Linked DNA regions of Homo sapiens: all the other regions are linked to region 2. The links are contacts of gene promoters, found by promoter capture Hi-C in human tissues and cell types (Jung and others, 2019). All regions are on one chromosome and are shown on one strand. Each heading gives the region's core, a stretch centred on a gene start or on the middle of the fragment in contact. The rest is flanking DNA. Distances are from core to core; before and after follow the strand shown.

What was found. The method cuts DNA at HindIII sites, captures the fragments that hold promoters and counts their contacts. A contact is called where the count stands out against the background at its distance.
Region 1: the fragment with the promoter of MEX3D here is called in contact with the fragment with the promoter of REXO1 in region 2 in 2 of the 25 tissues and cell types used here (dorsolateral prefrontal cortex and lymphoblastoid cells).
Region 3: a contact is called between the fragment with the promoter of RPS15 here and the fragment with the promoter of REXO1 in region 2, in 3 of the 25 tissues and cell types used here (aorta, dorsolateral prefrontal cortex and lymphoblastoid cells).
Region 4: the fragment with the promoter of NDUFS7 here is called in contact with the fragment with the promoter of REXO1 in region 2 in 1 of the 25 tissues and cell types used here (dorsolateral prefrontal cortex).
Region 5: a contact is called between a fragment that was not itself captured here and the fragment with the promoter of REXO1 in region 2, in 2 of the 25 tissues and cell types used here (lymphoblastoid cells and spleen).
Region 6: a fragment that was not itself captured here is called in contact with the fragment with the promoter of REXO1 in region 2 in 1 of the 25 tissues and cell types used here (lymphoblastoid cells).
Region 7: a contact is called between the fragment with the promoter of PLK5 here and the fragment with the promoter of REXO1 in region 2, in 3 of the 25 tissues and cell types used here (IMR-90 fibroblasts, lymphoblastoid cells and mesendoderm cells).

What each region holds. Positions count from the first base shown.
Region 1 is chr19:1,567,016-1,569,715 of GRCh38, forward strand. MEX3D (mex-3 RNA binding family member D) reads right to left here and starts at 1,310. Exons shown (of 2, transcript NM_203304.4): 1 at 449-1,310. The coding sequence starts at 1,043. RefSeq lists silencers at 1,310-1,499, 1,540-1,589. The HindIII fragment of the contact is 18,806 bases long and covers 1-2,700 here.
Region 2 is chr19:1,847,049-1,849,748 of GRCh38, forward strand. It overlaps REXO1 (RNA exonuclease 1 homolog), which reads right to left and starts at 1,435. Exons shown (of 16, transcript NM_020695.4): 1 at 1,154-1,435. The coding sequence starts at 1,310. RefSeq lists a silencer at 1,163-1,632 and enhancers at 1,653-1,802, 1,823-1,902. The HindIII fragment of the contact is 7,366 bases long and covers 1-2,700 here.
Region 3 is chr19:1,436,946-1,439,645 of GRCh38, forward strand. RPS15 (ribosomal protein S15) reads left to right here and starts at 1,451. Exons shown (of 4, transcript NM_001018.5): 1 at 1,451-1,483; 2 at 1,862-1,947. The coding sequence starts at 1,481. RefSeq lists enhancers at 1,196-2,066, 1,475-1,694. The HindIII fragment of the contact is 20,902 bases long and covers 1-2,700 here.
Region 4 is chr19:1,382,571-1,385,270 of GRCh38, forward strand. NDUFS7 (NADH:ubiquinone oxidoreductase core subunit S7) reads left to right here and starts at 1,337. Exons shown (of 8, transcript NM_024407.5): 1 at 1,337-1,372. The coding sequence starts at 1,357. It overlaps TRF-GAA1-6 (tRNA-Phe (anticodon GAA) 1-6), which reads right to left and starts at 864; the gene lies at 792-864. It overlaps TRN-GTT2-6 (tRNA-Asn (anticodon GTT) 2-6), which reads left to right and starts at 993; the gene lies at 993-1,066. RefSeq lists silencers at 707-836, 1,017-1,156, 1,407-1,466. The HindIII fragment of the contact is 12,722 bases long and covers 1-2,700 here.
Region 5 is chr19:2,276,883-2,279,582 of GRCh38, forward strand. PEAK3 (PEAK family member 3) reads right to left here. Exons shown (of 4, transcript NM_198532.3): 3 at 1,702-2,231. Among named protein-coding and RNA genes, the nearest start is that of PEAK3, 3.9 kb to the right of the region's middle. The HindIII fragment of the contact is 7,382 bases long and covers 1-2,700 here.
Region 6 is chr19:1,542,051-1,544,750 of GRCh38, forward strand. No RefSeq gene overlaps it. Among named protein-coding and RNA genes, the nearest start is that of PLK5, 19 kb to the left of the region's middle. The HindIII fragment of the contact is 4,742 bases long and covers 1-2,700 here.
Region 7 is chr19:1,522,595-1,525,326 of GRCh38, forward strand. PLK5 (polo like kinase 5 (inactive)) reads left to right here and starts at 1,483. Exons shown (of 14, transcript NM_001243079.2): 1 at 1,483-1,652; 2 at 2,711-2,732. The HindIII fragment of the contact is 15,366 bases long and covers 1-2,732 here.

The DNA of each region.
Region 1 (2,700 bases), core at 60-2,559, 280 kb before region 2:
CAGCCTTCTCTCCCGGTCCTGCAGGCGGCCCCCCTAAGCCACCCCTAAACCTGCGCTTGCCCCGCCCCGCCGCCTGTGCTGGGTGTGGGGCGCCCCCCGCCCGGCCGGAGCCCCGGGCCCTCGAGCCCCTCTCTGGGGTGCCCCTGCGGGCGGCCGAGGGCCTGGGCTGCGGCGCGGCTCCCCGGAGCCTTTCCGGGCTGGAGGCGGCCCAGACAAAGGCGGCGGCGGGGCCGGAGCGCGCAGGGGAGGAGCGCGGGCTGCGCCCAACTTTCTCCCGCGGCGGCTGCAGGACAAAGGCGCAAAGGCAGCGGCCGAGGCCGGAGCCCACGCGGGGCGTGTCCGGTGCGGGGCGTCCGGCGCGGGCTGGGCTGGGCTCGGGCGACCCCCTTCCCCGGGGCGGACGGTGCGGGGACCCCCAGGACAGCAACCCCCGACGAGGGCCACTCACCCTGGCGACCCACGATCTCGGCGACGTGCTCGGAGCTGGGCACCGGGACGCACTCGGTCATGTTGACGCTTTTCTTGCGGCTGCCGATCACGCTCATCTGGTCGGCCAGCAGCGTCGGGGGCCCCAGGGCCGCGGGGTGGGGCGCGAAGCCCGCGAACACGTCGGGGGGCGACGGCCGGGGCGGCGGCGGCGGCGGGGGACTCGCGTTGGGGTCCAGCAGCGGCAGCGACCCGGGGGCCACGGCGGGGGCCAGGGTCGGGGGCGCGCCGGCCTCAGGTCCGTCGGGGGGCACAGGCTCCGGAGCCGCCCCGCCGTCCGCGCCCCCCGCCGCCGCTGCGCCGTCCCCGGCCGCCCCCTCCTCGTCCGTGTCGCCAGCGCCCCCCAGCCCGAGCGCCGACAGCTGGTCCAGCGCCAGGCGGAGCGCGGCGGCCGCGTCGTCGGGTTCGGGCGGCGGCCGGGGCGCGGGCGCGGCCTCCTGGGCGCCCTCGGGCGGGGGCGCAGGTCCGGGTCCGGGGTCCTCCCCCGCCGCCCCCACGCCGCCGCCGCCGCCGCCCCCGCCCCCGCCGCCGTCGGGCTGGCCGAGCGAGCTGGGCATGGCGGGAGCTAGCGCTGGGGCCCGCGCTCCTGCCGCCCGCGCCGCCGCCGCCGCCCGCGCCGCCCTCCGCCTCTGCGAGCTGGGCCGCCGGCCGCCTGCATCCAGCGGCGGGGGCGGGCACGGGGGGCCGGGCGGGCGGGGCGGCGGCGGCGCGGGGCTGCTCGGGGCCGGGCCGGGCCGGGCCGGGCGGCGGCAGCGACTCTGGCTGCGGCTCGGCGGCGGCGGCGACGGCGGCGGCGGCTCCTCGGCGGCCGAGGCGGCGGCGGCGGCGCGGGACGCTCCTTCCCTCCCGCCGCCTCCCGCGGCCCCGCCCCGGCCCCGCCCCCGCGACGTCACGCCGCGGCCCAACAATGGGCGGCCCCCAGGGCGCAGGCGCGCGGGGCGGGGCCGGGGCGGGGCCGGCGCCGGGCACGTGGTCCAGGCCCCGCCTCCGCCCGGCGCTCGGGCGGGAACCCGGGCGCATCCGCACGTGCGGGCGCTGCTGCAGGTGTGTGCGGCTCAGCCCCTGCCTGGACAGCGCTCCCTCCCCAAGCCTGAGAGTCCCTGCCTCGCGCGCCCCAGGGCCCGAGGTCCCGCTCCCCAATTTCCCCTAGAGATCCGGGTCGCCCCCAAGCGAGGTCTCTTGCTCCACGCCCGCTTCCTTGTGCCAGGGACCCCCACCTCCCTGCATAAAGGCGTGGGGTCCTCTCCAAGTCCCCCTCGCGATCCCACTGGACTTCGAAGTCAGGCTCCTGCCCGCCCACCGCCTCTGTGCCAGGGTCCAACCCCCGCCCCACGGTGCACCCCCCAGGGCCTGGGGTCCCAGTCCCCAAGTACCCCTTGCTATCAGGTGGGCTTTAGGGTCAGGCCCCTGCCCCACCCCCAGCCTCTGTGCCAGGGACAGCTCCACAATCATGCACACCCCAGGGCCTGAGGTCCCTCTCCCCTAGTCTCTCCTAGCTCCCCTCTGGCTGGCTCCCGGCTTTGGGATCAGGCCACCTCCTCCACGCCACCTCCTCCGCCCCACCCAAGGCCACAGACCCGGTCTCTGTGCCCCCAGCCAGAGACCTCTCTACCACAGTGGTGCTTCCATGGCGAGGGCAGGCTCACACCAGCCAGAACCCTCCATGTGGAGCCCCACCCTCTTCTGGGGTGCCTTTCCCCGCAACGGGCGTTGTCCACCTCTAAAGCCACCCTTGCCGGGCGCGGTGGCTCATGCCTGTCATCCCAGCAGTTTGGGAGGCCGAGGCGGGTGGATCACGAGGTCAGGAGTTAGAGACCAGCCTGGCCAACATGGTGAAACCCCCGACTCTACTAAAAATACAAAAATTAGCCAGGCGTGGTGGCGCGCACCTGTAATCCCAGCTACTCAGGAAGCTGAGGCAGGATAATTGCTTGAACCCTGGAGGTGGTGGTTGCAGTGAGTCGAGATTGCACCACTGCACTCCAGCCTGGTTGACAGAGCAAGACTCCTCTCAAAAAAAAAAAAAAAAAAAAAAAATAGCCGCTTTCCCAGCGGCTCTTCCTCCAGCTGTCCTTCGGGGCCTTCCTTGCACCTGTGGGGTTTTTTGTGATAAACCTGTCTGGCTGGGTCTACCTGCCCCCCTCTTCTACCAGACCTGTCCCTGGCTGGCTGTGCAAACTTGGACCGAAGGCAGGGCTCTCTGGGCAGGAGTGG
Region 2 (2,700 bases), core at 185-2,684:
GCTGTCGGCAGGTCCCTGAGAGCACAGCCGGCATCGTACGCAGCTCTGAATCCCCCGCCTCAAACACAGCGAAGACGCTGGGCTGTGGGGAGCTGACAAGTGATTGCTTGCATCTGTCCACCTGCAAACAACCGCCCACAGGTGCAGGTGTCCCAAGCACACTTATCAGGGAAATCAGAAAAAAATGCTACCTTTTCTGGCAAAACAGGAAAATAAACCTATTCTTAAATCCTAGAGAAGATGTTTCTCTTTTGCAGGAAAAGGTTCTGAGCTGAGACTGTTTCATGGTTAAAGTAAAAACAGTGCTTGAAACTCACGCCCAATGAGGAAATCTGGGACGAAGGAAGTCAGGGGCTGGGTGAAGCAGAGAGCCACTATCAAGGGACAGAGGTAACAGGGGAGTCTGAATGACATCACACTCGATAACCCTCCCTCCACGACTTTCCTTGCGATGTCCCTCTTTTTCTCCAATCCAAATCCCACATCTCCTCCAAGAAACGCTGCCATGACGATGAAAACCACCATGACGCTGTGAGGTGGAGTCCACCAACGTCCTCTGCCCGACCAAAAGCATGGAATTCCTCGGAGCCCACTCGAGTAAGCTTTGACTTCCTCCCTGCCAGTCATGCTGGACACAGGGCTCGACAAACACAAGAGACGATCCTCGGACCATCCTAACTCAACGACTGGAGACTGAGGTGGCCGCTGCCAGAGGCGCGGCCGGAGGAAACGTCATGGAAATAAACAAGGGCGGCCACAAGCACATGGGGTCCGGGAAGCGGCGGGCGCCAATCAGGGGCAGGAGGAGTCCAGGACCTGCCTAGCGCCGGCCGCGCCCGTCTCCCGAGCCCCCTTGTGTCAGGCCCGGTGCCCGGTACTCAACATGCGCTCGCACTCCGCCCTCTAGACAGCCCTGGCAGGACGCGTCCTCCTAGTTGACATTTCACACTCGTGAAGACGAAGGCTTAGGGACATCTAGTGCTTTGCACCGGGTCCCAGGGTGGGTGGTTCCGGTCCCGACTGGGAAAACCGTCGCCCGCGAACGTGTGGGGAGGAGGCTGGGCCGAGAACGGGGACCCCGGGCGGGACCGGGGTGGGGTCCAGACCCGGGCAGGGGAGCCGAGCCCAAGGCAAGCAGGCGGGCGGGCATTACCTGCTGCGGGGGGCGCCTCTCCGCCGTCACCGGGCGCGCCGGAGCCCCGGGCCCCGCGGTGCCGGAAGTGGCAGTAGGGCCGCCGGCAGGGCCCCCCGGGCGCCCCAGACCAATAGGGGCAGTCAATGGCCCGGAAGAAGCCAGTGGAGCGTAGCATGGTCCGTCCCGCGGCGGGGCCCCGGCCCGGAGCCGCCCGGGCCCCAGGGCCCCCTCACTGGCGCCGCGGTCGCCGCCGCCCGCGCCTCACGGACCCCGCCGCCGCCATCTTGCTCCGAGGCCCCCGGAGGCCCTCGGGACGCCGCCGCAAGGGACCCCGGGAGGGGCTGCCCGCAGCGCGCCTGCTCAGAAACGCCTGCTCCTGCGCGACCAAGGCTGGTGACGGACCCCTGGGCCGGGACAGACGGCCGCGGGAGGAAGTAAGGAGGGCAGGGGCTGCCCTGCCTGCGGTCTCCGGGAGCCTCGCCAGCGCCGCCGCCCGACCTTCGGCGGCTGTAGCGGCGCCATCTTGAGCCCCAGGCCCCTGCGGCGCCAGGGCTGTCCACGGCGCGCCTGACCAAAAAAGCCCCGCGGGGCCCGCTATTACTCATTTGCATATTATTTCCTTTCGTTAGCATATCACCTTAAGGCGCCCTCTGCTGGACGAGGAGAGTTCTGCGGGGAGGTGGCCTTAAACCTGGGCCAGGTGAAACTCATGGTTGAATTACTCCGTTCACAGTCTTTAAAAATCCCCTCGCCCTGGTATACAGCTGGCTCTCAAGAAACGCCTTAATCTCCCCAACCTCGACTCTTGTCATCAGTCTAATGACCAGGTCCACGTTCACTCATTTGTTCAACAAATATTGAGCGCCTACTGTATACCAGCTAGAGGGTGCATTTTAACAGACAAACGAGGAACAAGGCTGGGATGGGGCAACTCTGTAGTCTGGTGGAGTAGGCCCACGTCTTAATGGGAAGTTTAACCTGGTGCATTTTGGTGGGATTGTAAAATAGTGCCACTGCTATGTAAAACAAAAAACCCAAAAAGTTTGTTTTTAAGAGACAGGGTCTTGCTCTGTCACCCAGGCTGGAGAGCAGTGGTGCGATCACGGCTCACTGCAGCCTCGACTTCCCTGGCTCAGGTGATTCTCCCACCTCAGCCTCCCGAGTAGCTAAAACCACAGGTGTGCACCATCATGCCTGGCTAATTTTTTGTATTTTGTGTAGAGATGGAAAAAGTTAAACAGAATTACCCTATGAGCAACTCTATTCCTGGGTATACACCCAAAAAGAATAGAAAGCAAAGTCTTAGGTCGGGCACAGTGGCTCATGTCTGTAATCCCAACACTCTGGGAGGCTGAGGCGGGTGGATCACTTGAGCCCAGGATTTCAAGACCAGCTTGGCCAATATGGCAAAACCCTGTCCTACTAAAAATACAAAAATTAGCTGGGCGCGATGGCTCACGCCTGTAATCCCAGCTCTTTGGGAGGCCGAGGAGGGAAGATCAACCGAGGTCAGGAGTTTGAGACCAGCCTGGCCAAGATGGCGAAACCCCACCTCTATTAAAAAT
Region 3 (2,700 bases), core at 201-2,700, 410 kb before region 2:
GCTAAGCTCGGGTTCCCAGAGGTTTTGTGCTTTTTTTTTTTCTTTTTCTTTTTTTTTTTTTTTTTTTTTTTTGAGAAGGAGTCTCTGTCGCCCAGGCTGGAGTGCAGTGGTGCGATCTCAGCTCACTGCAACCTCCGCCTCCCGGGTTCAAGCGGTTCTCCTGCCTCAGCCTCCCAAGGAGCTGGGATTACAGGCACCCACCACCACGCCTGGCTAATTTTTTGTATTTTTAGTAGAGTTAGGGTTGGTCAGCTTGGTCTTGAACTCTTGACCTCAGGTGATCCGCCCGCCTCGGCCTCCCAAAGTGCTGGAATTACAAGCATAAGCCACCACGCCCAGCCAGGTGCCACATCCATAGTTAATAGTCACCTTCAACTTTATACTTAATTCCAGTAAGATACAGAAACATCACTCCTAGGCCAGGCGCGGTGGCTCACGCCTGTAATCCCAGCACTTTGGGAGGCCAAAGCGGGTGGATCACCTGAGGTCAGGAGTTCGAGACCAACATGGCCTGGCCAACATGGAGAAACCGTGTCTTTACTAAAAATACAAAATTAGCCGGGCACGGTAACAGGTGCCTGTAATCCCAGCTACTTGGGAGGCTGAGGCAGGAGAATCGCTTGAACCCAGGAGGCAGAGGTTGCAGTGAGCCGAGATCACACCACTGCACTCCAGCCAGGGCAACAAGAGTGAAACTCTGTCTCAAAAAAAAAAAAAAGTCACTCCTACATAGTTCTAGTTACTCCTTCTCTTTGAGCTATCATTATTCACATTACATTTACATATCTTAACAAACCCAGTGATATTCCTAACTTTATTTTTGAGGCAGGGTCTTGCTCTGTCGCCCAGGCTGGAGTGCCGTTGGCGCGATCACGGCTCACTGCAGCCTTGACCTCCTGGGCTGAAGGCTCAGCCTCCCGAGTAGCTGGGAATTTTTTGTACTTTTTATTCTTTTATGTCCGTGTGTACACAAATTTTTGTATTTTTTTGTAGAGAGGCAGTCTCACTGTGTTGTCCTTACTAACTTTATATACAAAATTTTATCTGTTAAAGCCGGAATGGTTCTTTTCAGCGAGGCCCTGTCCCTGCTCCAGTATCTGTAATGAATTCTCGTGTTCCTCCCACAGTGGGACCTGAACCGCCAAACCGCACCTACGAGCAAACGGTAGGCGCTCCATAAATACTTGTTGATGTGGGTGCCATCGTGTAGATGACGGAGCACGAACCCGAGGCTCAGACAGGGGCGGCGACTTGTCCAAAGTCCCACTCCGTGGAGGAAGCGGCTCTGCAGACCTCAGGCGGCGGCTGCTCTAATCCCTGCAGCCTGTGTTTTGCCCTCCAGACGGCAGAGGGCGCGTGTTCGCCGCCGGGAAAGCGGAAGCGCGTGTGCGCGCACGGCCGAGGGGGCGGGACATGCCGGCAGTCTCGCGATAACTGCGCAGGCGCGGACCAAAGCGATCTCTTCTGAGGATCCGGCAAGATGGTGAGTGTTGCGATTTGGCGCGTCTCTGCCGGGCCTATCCGGCTCCATCCAACCTCTGACCGTCTCGCGGGGGCCGCAGTTCGTCCCCGCGGCTACGGCGGCTTGCTCCCGACCCTGCAGGCGGCTGGATGTTGGGGCGAGGGGCGGACTTGGTGGGTGTCGGGACGACGCGGGGCTGGGAAGGCCTGTCCGGGCCTTCATGTCCGGGTCCTCGTAACCCGGAGCCGCGAGTGATCCCCGGGGACGGGTCGAAGCGGTGTGTCCCTGTCGGGCTTCTGTCCCCGGCGGCGCCGCGCGTCTTCCGCGGTGTCCTCGGGCCCGGTGGCCCCGGGAGATGGGTGTCGGGATCCCGCTGACGCCCGATCCGCGCCCGCACAGGCAGAAGTAGAGCAGAAGAAGAAGCGGACCTTCCGCAAGTTCACCTACCGCGGCGTGGACCTCGACCAGCTGCTGGACATGTCCTAGTAAGGGCGGCCGCGGGGGTCGCGGGCAGGGGCTGGGCCAGCGGTGGGGCTTGTCCGGGTGAGGGCGGCGGGGCGGGGGTCCAAGCGCCTCTGCGGCGGTGGGCGGGCACGGTCTCCGCGCGGGTTTGGAACTGAGTGTGGTCTTGCGCCCAGAAAACTGTCCAGAGACGTTGAGGTTTTTGCTTATTTGCAACCTGCCCCCCGTTGTTCACTTTTCCGCGGCTTAGTTGGAAGGTGTAGCCCCTGTCTGTAGCCCACGTGACTTAGAATAAGGGGCTGCGTTAGACTCCTTAGATTTTAAGGGCGGTGGAGGTCGCTGGGTCCTTTCCAGGCAGGGTGGTGGTGGGCATCTGGCTTGCGCTTTTATTTTTTAATTTTTGATTATTTTGAGGCGGAGTCTCATCCTGTCGCCCAGGCTGGAGTGCAATGGCTCCGTCCCAGCTCACTGCAGCCTCCCACTCCCGGGTTCAAGCGATTCTCTTGCCTCAGCCTCTCGAGTAGCTGGGATTAGAGGGCCCCCCCACCACGTCCGGCTAATTTTTGTATTTTTAGTAGAGACGAGTTTCAGTGTTGCCCAGGCTGGTCTCAAACTCCTGACCTCAGGTGATCCACCTGCCTCGGCCTCCCAAAGTGCTGGGATTACAGGCGTGAACACCGCGCCCGACCTTGATTTTTGATTATTTGTGGAAACAGCGTTTCTCTGTGTCGTCCAGGTTGGTCTTGAACTCCTGGGCTCAAGCGACCCTCCCGCCT
Region 4 (2,700 bases), core at 87-2,586, 460 kb before region 2:
CATGGCACGAATTCAGTAAACACTTGTTGTGGTCCTCAAGGGGCCCCCAGTCTTGCTAGTCACCTGTGTTCACCTAATTTGAGCCTCTGTTTTCTTTACTTTTTCTTTTTCTTTTTTCTTTTTTTTTTTTTTTTGAGATGGAGTCTCACTCTGTCGCCCAGGCTGGAGTGCGGTGGCACGATCTCAGCTCATTGCAACCTCCGCTTCCCGGATTCAAGTGATTCTCTTGCCTCAGCCTCCCGAGTAGCTGGGATTTAGATACAGGGTTTCACCATATTGGCCAGGTTGGTTTTGAACTCCTGACCTCAGGTGATTTGCCTGCCTCAGCCTCCCAAAGTGCTGGGATTACAGGCGTGAACCACCGCACCGGCCTTTGCCTCTGTTTTTGTAATCATAAAACAGGCAGACAAAACCTCCAGTGGAATTGTGAAAATTAAATGATATGCATGCAGAAAGCGTTCTGCAAACTCTGTTTTGCTAGTTTGGGTGTTTAGTGTTAGTTTTTATATCATTAGTACTGGTTGTAAACTTATCAATTTAAGCAAGATGGAAAATCGAGGGTGTGTCAGGGAAGGGGGAAGTTTGAGCTGAAATTATGACCTCTTAGGGGTGGGAAGAGGAGGCTTTGGGGTTGTGAGGTCTGAGCCCCCTTACTTTGGGATGAGTCCACATCGCGGCGACTCCTCTGCAGAATGCGGTGATGTTGCGGTAAGGGGTCCGGGATAGCTGCGAGGCAGCTGGACCAATCCTGAACGAAAGACATCAGTGATCGCAAGAGGCGCTAAAACTTCTGCCGAAACCCGGGATCGAACCAGGGACCTTTAGATCTTCAGTCTAACGCTCTCCCAACTGAGCTATTTCGGCTGGGCGGCAGAGTCGCTCTCGCCGGGACTCCGTCCCGCGCTGCGCCTTCCCTGCGCAGGCGCAGTCGTTTCGCGTCAGCAGGCCCCACATCCTTTGTAAGGTCTCCCAGGGCGCCGGAGCGCAGTGTCGTCTCTGTGGCGCAATCGGTTAGCGCGTTCGGCTGTTAACCGAAAGGTTGGTGGTTCGAGCCCACCCAGGGACGCGTGGTGACTTTTGCCCTCCTGGAATAACAAGAAAATGAGTGTCGCCTCTGTTTTTGTCGGTCCGCCGCAGACCCGCGGCCCCCACGTGCGCACTCCGATGACCTTTCCGCCTCGGGTGATCTGGGGGTGCACGGCGCAACACGACCACGGAGGCCGAAAGCGCAGCGGAACCTCCCGGCTCCAGGTTCCGGTTTCCGCATGCGCTCCGAGCCGCTTTGGGCGGCGGCCCCGGGAACCCGGAGCGCTAAGGAGAACGGACCTCAGAGGTTGTCTGAAGGCCGAGGCCAAGATGGCGGTGCTGTCAGGTGAGCGCGGCACCGGCGGCGGGTGTGGGGCCGCGCGGGTCTGGGGCCGTGGGAGCCTCGGGTGTCGTGGTGGCGTCGGGGGTCGGTGCCGGCGTCGTGGCCGCGGTCCTCTCCGGGCTTCTCCGAGCCGGCCGCTCCTCGGGCTCCCCGCCCGGCTTGCGATGAACGGTCGCCGTTATTGCGTCCAGAGTACAGTCGGGGAAACCGAGGCCCGGTAGGTCATGACGCAAGCCTCCAGCCTCAGGAAGGCGCTCGGGGTGGAGGCTGGAGGGGCCCCATTCACGTCCCCGAGACCAGGGCACGGCCCGCGAGGCTGCTCTTGAGATGCCCTGGAGAGAGCGGGGCCTGCCTGACAGGCTGGGAAACTGAGGCCCATTGAGGGTCTTCGAGGTCACAGGGCCGGGCCTGGGAAGGAACAGGACCCAGGACATCCACGCCACCCTGCTGGACCCTCCACCTCCCTCCCCACCCCTGGGAGGTAAGGGCCTCTCGCAGAGCCTGTCCTGCTCCAGGGACTTTTTTGGGATCAGCTGAAGCCTGCGGACCTCTGCTCAGATAAAGTTATTAAATGCATGGAATAAAATCCATAGAATTGCAAGGAAATCAGTTACACGGAGAGGCAGTTATTAAAAGATTGTCTTGAAACCTGATTGGCGACTTAGTAATCTAAGTGCTTCCCTTATGAACGCGATCTAGCGGCAGGTCTAATTGCGACTGTGATTTGGAAGGAGTGAGGAGTGGAAATGAGGCTTTGATGATACGGAAACGTCTGCAGCCCCTGCACCATAGCTAGGAAACATCTGTGATTCCGCTTGGTGAAAAGTTACAGGTCCTGCTAATACTGCCGTATTTTGTTGTCTATGCTAAGAATTTTTTATTTATTTATTAAGACAGGGTCTGCCTCTGTCGCTCAGACTGGAGTGCAGTGGTGCCATCTTGGCTCATCACTGCAACCTGTGCCTCCCAGGCTCAAGCGATTCTGGCACTTCAGTGTCCTGTGTAGCTGGGACCACAGGTGTGCGCCACCATGCCTGGCTAGTTTTTGTATTTTTAGTAGAGATGGGGGTCTTGCCCTGTTGCCCAGGCTGGTCTCGAACTTCTGAGTTCAAGCAATCCTCCCACCTGAGCCTCCCAAAGTGCTGGGAGCCACGGCACCCAGCCTACGCTAAGAATTGAATGAAGGGCTAATTTTCCATAAGATGCTGGTGACAACAAAGACATATATATTTTTTTATTCCAAGCAAATTCACAGTTCTGAATCCTCACCAGGCCCCTTGTTAAGAATGCCTGGCCCACGCGCGGTGGCTCACGCCTGTAATCCCAGCACT
Region 5 (2,700 bases), core at 133-2,632, 430 kb after region 2:
GCGCCTGTCATCCCAGCTACTTCGGAGGCTGAGGTGAGAGAATCGCTTGAGCCCGGGAGGTGGAGGTTGCAGTGAGCCGAGAACGCGCCACTGCACTCCAGCCTGGGCAACAGAGTGAGACTCTGTCTCAAAAACAAAAAACAAAACAAAAAACACAAAAGCAGATCCCCGGCCAGAGAGGTGTGGGAGGGGTTTTGACAAGAGCTCCAAGGCCATACCCATGGCCCCATACTTTAGAAACATGGTTTCCTGGGTTAACTGCGTTGATTCACGTGTTAGTTGCAAAATAAACAAGTCTAATATGGTCTGGATCTGTGTCCCCACCAAATCTCATTCCCCAGTGTTGGAGGTGGGGTCTGGTGGGAGGCGACTTGGATCTTGGGGGTGGTTTATCATGAATGGCTCAGCACCATCTCCCTTGGCACTGTCGTTGGGATAACGAGTGAGTTCTCGTGAGATCTGGCTGTGTAAAGGTGAGTAGCACCTCCTCCCTCCCTTCCTCCTGCTCCCACCGTGTGAGATGCCTGCTCCCGCCTCGCCTTCCACTATGATTGGAAGCTTCCTGAGGCCTCCCCAGAAGCAGAAGCCACCAGAACCATGAGCCAATTAAGGCCCTTTTCTCTATAAATTACCCAGTCTCCAGTATTCCTTTTTCTTTTCTTTTCTTTTTTCTTCTCTTTTGTTTTTCTTTTTTGAGACAGAGTCTCACTCTGTCGCCCAGGCTGGAGTGCAATAGCCCAATTTTCGAATCTCAGCTCACTGCAACCTCCGCCTCCCAGGTTCAAGTGATTCTCCTGCCTTAGCCTCCAAGTAGCTGGGACTTCAGGTGCGCACCACCGCGCCCGGCTAATTTTTGTATTTTTAGTAGAGATGGGGGTTTCACTATGTTGGCCAGGCTGGTCTCGAACTCCTGACCTCATGATCTGCCCGCCTTGGCCTTCCAAAGTGCTGAGATTACAGGCGTCAGCCACTGTGCTGCCCAGCCTTTTTTTTTTTTTTTAGACGGAGTCTCGCTCTGTCGCCCAGGCTGGAGCGCAGTGGTGCGTTCTCGGCTCACCGCAAGCTCTGCCCCCTGGGTTCATGCCATTCTCCTGCTTCAGCCTCCCAAATAGCTGGGACTACAGGTGCCCACCACCACGCCCGGCTAATTTTTTGTCTTTTTAGTAGAAACAGGGTTTCACCGTGTTAGCCAGGATGGTCTGTATCTCCTGACCTCGTGATCTGCCCGCCTCGGCCTCCCAAAGTGCTGGGATTACAGGTGTGAGCCACTGTGCCCGGCCTTTTTCTTTTTTTTTTTTTTGAGACGGAGTCTCACTCTGTTGCCCAGGCTGGAGTGCAATGGCCCAATCTTGGCTTACTGCAACCTCTGCCTCCCGGGTTCAAGCAATTCTCCTGCCTCAGTCTCCCAAGTAGCTGGGTTTACAGGCGCCCGCCACCACACCTAATTTTTGTATTTTTAGTAGAGGCTGGGTTTCACCATGTTGGCCAGGCTGGTCTTGAACTCCTGACCTCAGCTGATCCGCCCGCCTTGGCCTCCCAAAGTGCTGGGATGACAGGCGTGAGCCACCGCGCCCGGCTCCAGTATTTCTTTACAGCAGTGTGAGAACTGACTCACAGAAAGGCCAAATGAAACAAGCCCTGGGTTATGTCTAAGATGGGGCACTGGGGACACCTCAGAGAGGGTGGGGCTGTGGGGCTCACCTTGGCGACCAGGATGTGCCAGGCGTCCTCGTGCGCGCGCACCACGCGGTAATACAGGGCGTCCCCGCTCTCTGCGCAGGGTGAGCTGTCTAGGAGGCGGAAGCTGTGGCCGGGGTGGCAGGGCCCGGGGTGGCCCCCCATGAGCCGGGCACGGAGCCGGGCATAGATGGTACGGAGGCCCTGCAGCTGCCGCGCAGCCAGTGCAGTGTGCACAGCCTCCGGGCTGTGCAGATCGCGGAGGGAGAGGCCCAGTGGGGCGTCAGCCGGGCCAAAGGTCAGCTCTGCAGGGAGACAGGCTGGTCCCACTGCAGCCTGGCTCTTGTCCACACTGTGGGACCCCAGAAAGGGTCTCCGAGGCGGCTGTACTTGGATGGAGCTGGGATGGAGGGTCCTGCGGGTGGGCAGTGACTGGGTCCGGGTTAGGATCTTCTTGGGCAGGGGTGGGGGCAGGGGCTCTGGGTTGGTGGAGAGGGACCCAGGGGTCCGGAGGCGGCAGGCCTTGGAGGGCAGCAGGTGGGCACGGATCTGACCTGCAGGGAGAGACAGTGGGGGAGGGTTGAGGACAGGCGGAGTGGGAACGGGACACGTGACTCCACCTCTCAGCCTCGGTTTCCCCATCTCTAACATGGAAGTAATGAGGCTGGGCGCCGGTGGCTCATGCTTGTAATCCCAGCACTTAGGAAGGTGGAAGCCGAGGCAGGAGGATCACTGGAACCTAGGGTTTGAGACCAGCCTGGGCAACATAGTGAGACCCTGTCTCTGCAAAAATTTTTTAAAAATTTGCCGGACGCGGCCATGCACAATGGCTCATGCCTGTAATTCCAGCACTTTGGGAGGCCGAGATGGGTGGATCACGAGGTCAGGAGATCGAGACCATCCTGGCTAACACGGTGAAACCCCGTCTTTACTAAAAATACAAAAAATTAGCCGGGCTTGGTGGTGGGCGCCTGTGGTCCCAGCTACTCGGGAGGCTGAGGCAGGAAAATTGTGTGAACTTGA
Region 6 (2,700 bases), core at 152-2,651, 310 kb before region 2:
AGCACCCACACCGCCCTCGTGCTAAAGTTTCTGGAATCTTCCTTAGACGGGTGAACTGTGTGCTGCCAGAAATAAAATTAATAGCCTCACTTTTTTGGGTGCTTACAAGGGTTGGAACTTCAAGAAATGGTCATGAATTCACTCCAGCCCTGGCTCAAAGATTTTTTTTTCTTTCTTCCCTTCTTCTTCCTTCTTCTCCCTACTCCCTTCTCTTCCTCTTTCTCCTCCTCCTTCCTTCTCCTTCTTTTTCTTTTTGGAAACCACTGATTTAACCCTGAGAGAGGGAAAACTTGTCCTGGCAAGAATTTCCAAAGCTCAGTTTTATTTTTTAAGACAAAGTCTCGCTCTTGTCACTCAGGCTGGAGTGCAGTGGCGTGCTCTCGGCTCACTGCAGCTTCCGACTCCCTGGTTCAGGAGATTTTTCTCGTGCCTCAGGATCCCAAGTAGCTGGTACTACAGGCGTCATCATGCCCGGATAAATTTTCTACTTTTAGTAGAGACGGGGTTTCACCATGTTGGCCAGGCTGGTCTCGAACTCCCGACCTCAGGGGATCCACCCGCCTCGGCCTCCCAAAGTGCTGGTATTACAGGCGTGAGCCCCAGCGCCCGGCCCCAAAGTTCCGTTTTACCCTTTTTCCCACGCTGAGGCTACAGCTGAACCCAGCCTCCAGACCACCTCCTCATTGGTCTATGGGAGCACGTGACATCATGCGTCCTCCAATCACCAGCAAGCAAGCAAGGCGTGGGCGGGACCAAGGGCGGCTACCTCTGGGGCCAGCAGGATTGGCTGTTGCCCGTGGTAACTGTGTGTGACGTCATAAAGCTTCCTTGCACCTTGGCAAGGCCCCGGGAGCAGGGACCTTTTCTCTCCCACTATACAGATGGGGACACTGAGGCGCTGGTTCTCAATCTATGAAAAAATGGGGTGCTGGTAGGTAGGTCAACCTGGGTCCCACGGGGAGTTTTCAAACTCCTGATGACTCCAGAGAATTACGCTGAGTGAAAAAAGCCTGTCCCGGCCGGGCGCGGTGGCCCACGCCTGTAATCCCCGCACTTAAGGAGGTCGAGGCAGCCGGGTCACAAGGTCAAGAGATCGAGACCAGCCTGGCCAACATGGTGAAACCCCATCTCTACTAAAAATACAAAAATTAGCCGGGCGTGGTGGCGGGCGCCTGTAGTCCCAGCTACTCGGGGAGCTGAGGGAGGAGAATCACTTTCACCACGGAGGCGGAGGTTGCAGTGAGCCTAGATCACGCCACTGCACTCCAGCCTGGGTGACAGAGTGAGACTCCGTCTCGGGAAAAAAAAAAAAAAAAAAAAATTAGCCGGGCATAGTGGGGTGTGCCTGTGGTCCCAGCTACTCAGTTGGCTGAGGTGGGAGGATCACCTGAGCCCAGGAGTTCCAGACCACCCTGGGGAACATAGTGAGACCCCATCTCTATAAAAAATTAGAAAATTAAGGCCAGGCGCGGTGGCTCACGCCTATAATCCCAGCACTTTGGGAGGCCGAGGCGGGCGGATCAGGAGGTCAGGAGATCGAGACCATCCTGGCTAACACGGTGAAACCCTGTCTCTACTAAAAATACAAAAAATTAGCCGGGCGTGGTGGCGGGTGCCTGTCGTCCCAGCTACTCGGGAGGCTGAGGCAGGAGAATGGCGTGAACCCGGGGAGACGGAGCTTGCAGTGAGCCGAGATGGCGCCACCGCACCCCAGCCTGGGCGACAGAGCAAGACTACGTCTCAAAATAAATAAATAAATAAATAAATAAATAAGCCAAGGATGATGATGCACACCTGTAGTCCTAGCTGCTTGGGCGACTGAGGCAGGAGGATGCCTTGAACCCAGGAGTTCATGTAGGTTGCAGTGAGCTGTAGTTGCACCACTGGAGTCCAGCCTGGGCAACAGAGCAAGACCCTGTGTAAAGAACAAAAAAAGTTTATGTAACATTTTAGAAATGGAATTAGGGTTAGGGATGAGGGTGCGGGGAGGGTGCACAAACAGCAAGAGATCCTGATGGTGATGGAAATGCTCCATGTCATGATGGTGGATACACGAATCTACCCAGGCCAGCAAATTATAGGAGACTAAAGACATCTCACACACTCACACACACGATCACAAGTTAAACTGAGGAATCCTGAGTAAGATTGATGGATTGTATCCATGTGAAATCTTACTTATATGTTTTTTAGAGATGGAGTGTCCTTAATGCACCCCAGGCTGGAGTGCAATTTTGTGATCTCAGCTCACTGCAGCCTCTGGGGTTCAAGCGATTCTCCTGCCTCAGCCTCCGGAGTAGCTGGGATTACAGGCGCCCACCACCACGCCCGACTAATTTTTGTATTTTTAGTAGAGATGGGGTTCCACTATGTTGGCCAGGCTGCTGTCGAACTCCTGACCTCGTGATTCACCTGCCTTGGACTCTCAAAGTGCTGTGATTACAGGCGTGAGCCACCACACCCGTTTTTGTTTTGTTTTGTTTTGTTTTGTTTTTGTTTTGAGATGGAGTCTCACTCTGTTGCCCAGGCGAGAGTGCAGTGGTGTGTTCTAGGCTCAGTGCAACCACCGCCTCCCAGGTTCAAACGAGTCTCCTGCCTCAGCCTCCCGAGTAGCTGGGACTACAGGTGCCCGCCACCACGCCCGGCTAATTTTTTGTTGTTGTTGTATTTTTGGTAAAGAGGAGGTTCCCCATGTTGGCC
Region 7 (2,732 bases), core at 233-2,732, 320 kb before region 2:
CCGGGTGACAGAGCAAGACTCTCTTTCAAAAAAACAAACAAACAAAAAAAAAAGCAAGGAACTGGCTTTCTGCCCCTGGAGGATTCCAGGGTGACAGTCGTGTGACAGCTCAGACACTCGGGCCCCGAGCAGCCCACCTTGCAGCCACCTCACCTGATTCTCATCAGCAGGGGACTTGGGCTCCCCAGCTGCAACCCGGTGGCCCCAGGCTGGCCAGGAATCTTCCGCCCTGGCCCTGGGACCAGAAACCCCGCAAAGGTGCCCGAGCTCAGCCCCGTCCAATGCACGGGGGCCCCATTCGTGACACCAGGTGGACACGTGACGGCTCAGAAGGTGTTTCCTGTCCCTAGTGGTGTGGCCGGGCCAGATTCCGAAATCTGGTCCCTGGAAAATTCCAGCCCCACGGAGCCTGGTAACCCCTCCCCATTCCTGGTGTTATGTAACATTTGGGGATTAATACCGCAGGCGTCCAGGGGCGGCTGCCGGGATTCAAACCCAGCGCTGCCCTTTCCTGGGCTGACTGAGCGACTTTGCGTCCCTGGGTCTCAATGTCTTGCCTGTACAATGGGGACAAGGCCCGTTTTTGTGTCCCAGGCTGGGTGGAAGGGTGAGGGAAGACCTCACCAGGAAAGGGGTGCACCTGAGTCTGGGGCAGGGCTTGGAGCAACCACCCCCACGATTCCGGGGGAGTCTCAAGCCCCCCACTGTCTTCCCACCCAGCTGTTCTCTGAGTTCTCTGAGGTTTCTGATGCTCTCTGAGGTCGCCATTTCAAGGACGTCCCCACCTGGCTGTCCGTGCAAACCCCAGCCAGGGTCCACCTGCTGCTCCACACAGCCCATCCCTTCTCCGGGCTGAAGCTCCCTCATATGGGACATCCACTACACTGTAGGACCCCAGCCCATGCGTCCCCAAGCCCCGGTCCTGCCTCCTGGGTCCCTGTCCCAGGCCTCACCGCCCTCCCCACCAGCCCCAGCATCACAAACGCTGGGCTTCTCTGCCGCTCCGAATTCTGCTGTGGCTCCCCAGTGCCCAGGGCCATCAAGCCCCAGGTTTTCATGTGGGCCCCAGGGACCCGCCAGCAGGGAGGACCCGAAATGGCACACATTCAGAACGTCGAGGCTCATACCTCAAGCGCACTGTGGGGGAGAAGCCCCCGGAAGCCCCCAACCCCCCACGCGCGAGAGAGCCTCAGTTTCCCGCTCGGTAAAGCGGGCGTATCAGCGGTTCCCAGCCAGCCCGGGTGTGCAGGGTCGGAGGAGCTCGCGGGCTGAGCGCGGCCCCTGGCGCCCGGTTGGCGTGCGGGACTCGGGCGCGCTCTGGTCCGTGGAACTTCCCCAGCCGCGGCGTCCCCGCCGCTCACGCGCCCCCCACTCCACGGCCGGGCACCTCCCGCCCCTCCCCGGGCTGGACCTGCGCCCGGGCTCCGCCCCCTCCCCGCCCCCGCGGCCAATAAAACGCTCCCCGGCGGCTCCTGCGCCCTCAGAGCGGCCCCGGAGCGGCCGCAGCGCGGTGGTCTCGGCCCGGCTGCGCCAGAGTCCGCGCGATGGAGCCCCGGCCGCGGCGGCGGCGCAGGAGTCGCCCCCTGGTCGCCGCCTTCCTGCGAGACCCGGGCTCGGGCCGCGTGTACAGGCGCGGGAAGCTGATCGGCAAGGTGGGAGGCCCGCGCCCCGAGTCCGCGACGGGGCCGGACCGGGCTGGGCTGGGGTCCCGGGGCGCGCGGGCGATCCTGCGCGGTCTACGCGGCGCGTCCCTGCGAGCGCGGGGTCTGGAGCGGGCGCGCGTCCGGAGCCGCGGGGCCTCCCGTGCGGGGTTTCGCATGGCGGGAACCGTGTTGAGCGCGCTGTGCGTCGTGTCCGTGGGTTGCGTGTCCGGGGTGTGGGCGTGCGGCTCGGCCTCGGGATGCGACGCTGTGTTGCCCCTGGGTGTGTGTGCGAGCCTGGCGAGGGTCTGAGTGTGCCGCGTCTGTGCCCGCTGCTTCCAAGTGTCTGGGTGCTGTGCGGTGTTCGTGTGTGTGTGTGTGTGTGTGTGTGTGTGTGTCTGGGTGTTGTGTTGCTTGTTCACCTGTTGTTTGTGCGTCATGCCTTTGTGTGTCCAGTCATTGTGTTGTGTGTCTGGGTGTTGTGTGTTCATGTGGTGTGCTTGTGTGTTTGTGTGTTCATATGTGGTGTGTCTAGGAGTTGTGTGTTCATGTGTTTGTATCTGTGTCTTTGTCCATGTGTTGTACTGTGTGTCCAGGTGTTGTGTGTTCATGTGTTTGTGTGTTCCTGTGCTGTGTCTGGGTATTGTGTTGTGTGTCCACACGTGGTGACTGTGTGTCCAGACATTGTATATTCATGTGTTTGTGTGTTGCTGCGTTGTGTATCTGGGTGTTGTGTTGTGTGTCCATGCATGGTGACTCTGTGTCTGGGCGTTGCGTGTTTGTGTGTCGTATTCAGGCGTGGTGTTGTGCATCCGGTGCTGTCTTCTGGTCCGTGGCCTCTATGCACCAGGCGTGGATGTGTCTGTGTCTGTGTCTCTGTGCCTTCTTGTGTGCATCATGTCTTGTGTGTCCAGGCGGGAGGGTGGGAGCTGTGTGTTGTTTTTTCCCCGGTGTGTGTGTGGAGAGACCTGGACGCGCCTGCGTCCCTGGCTGCCCTGTGCCTCTGTACGCGCTGCCAGCTTGCACACCCGTGCACACCTGCCCACTGATCTGCTGACCCCTCCCCACAGGGCGCCTTCAGCCGCTGCTACA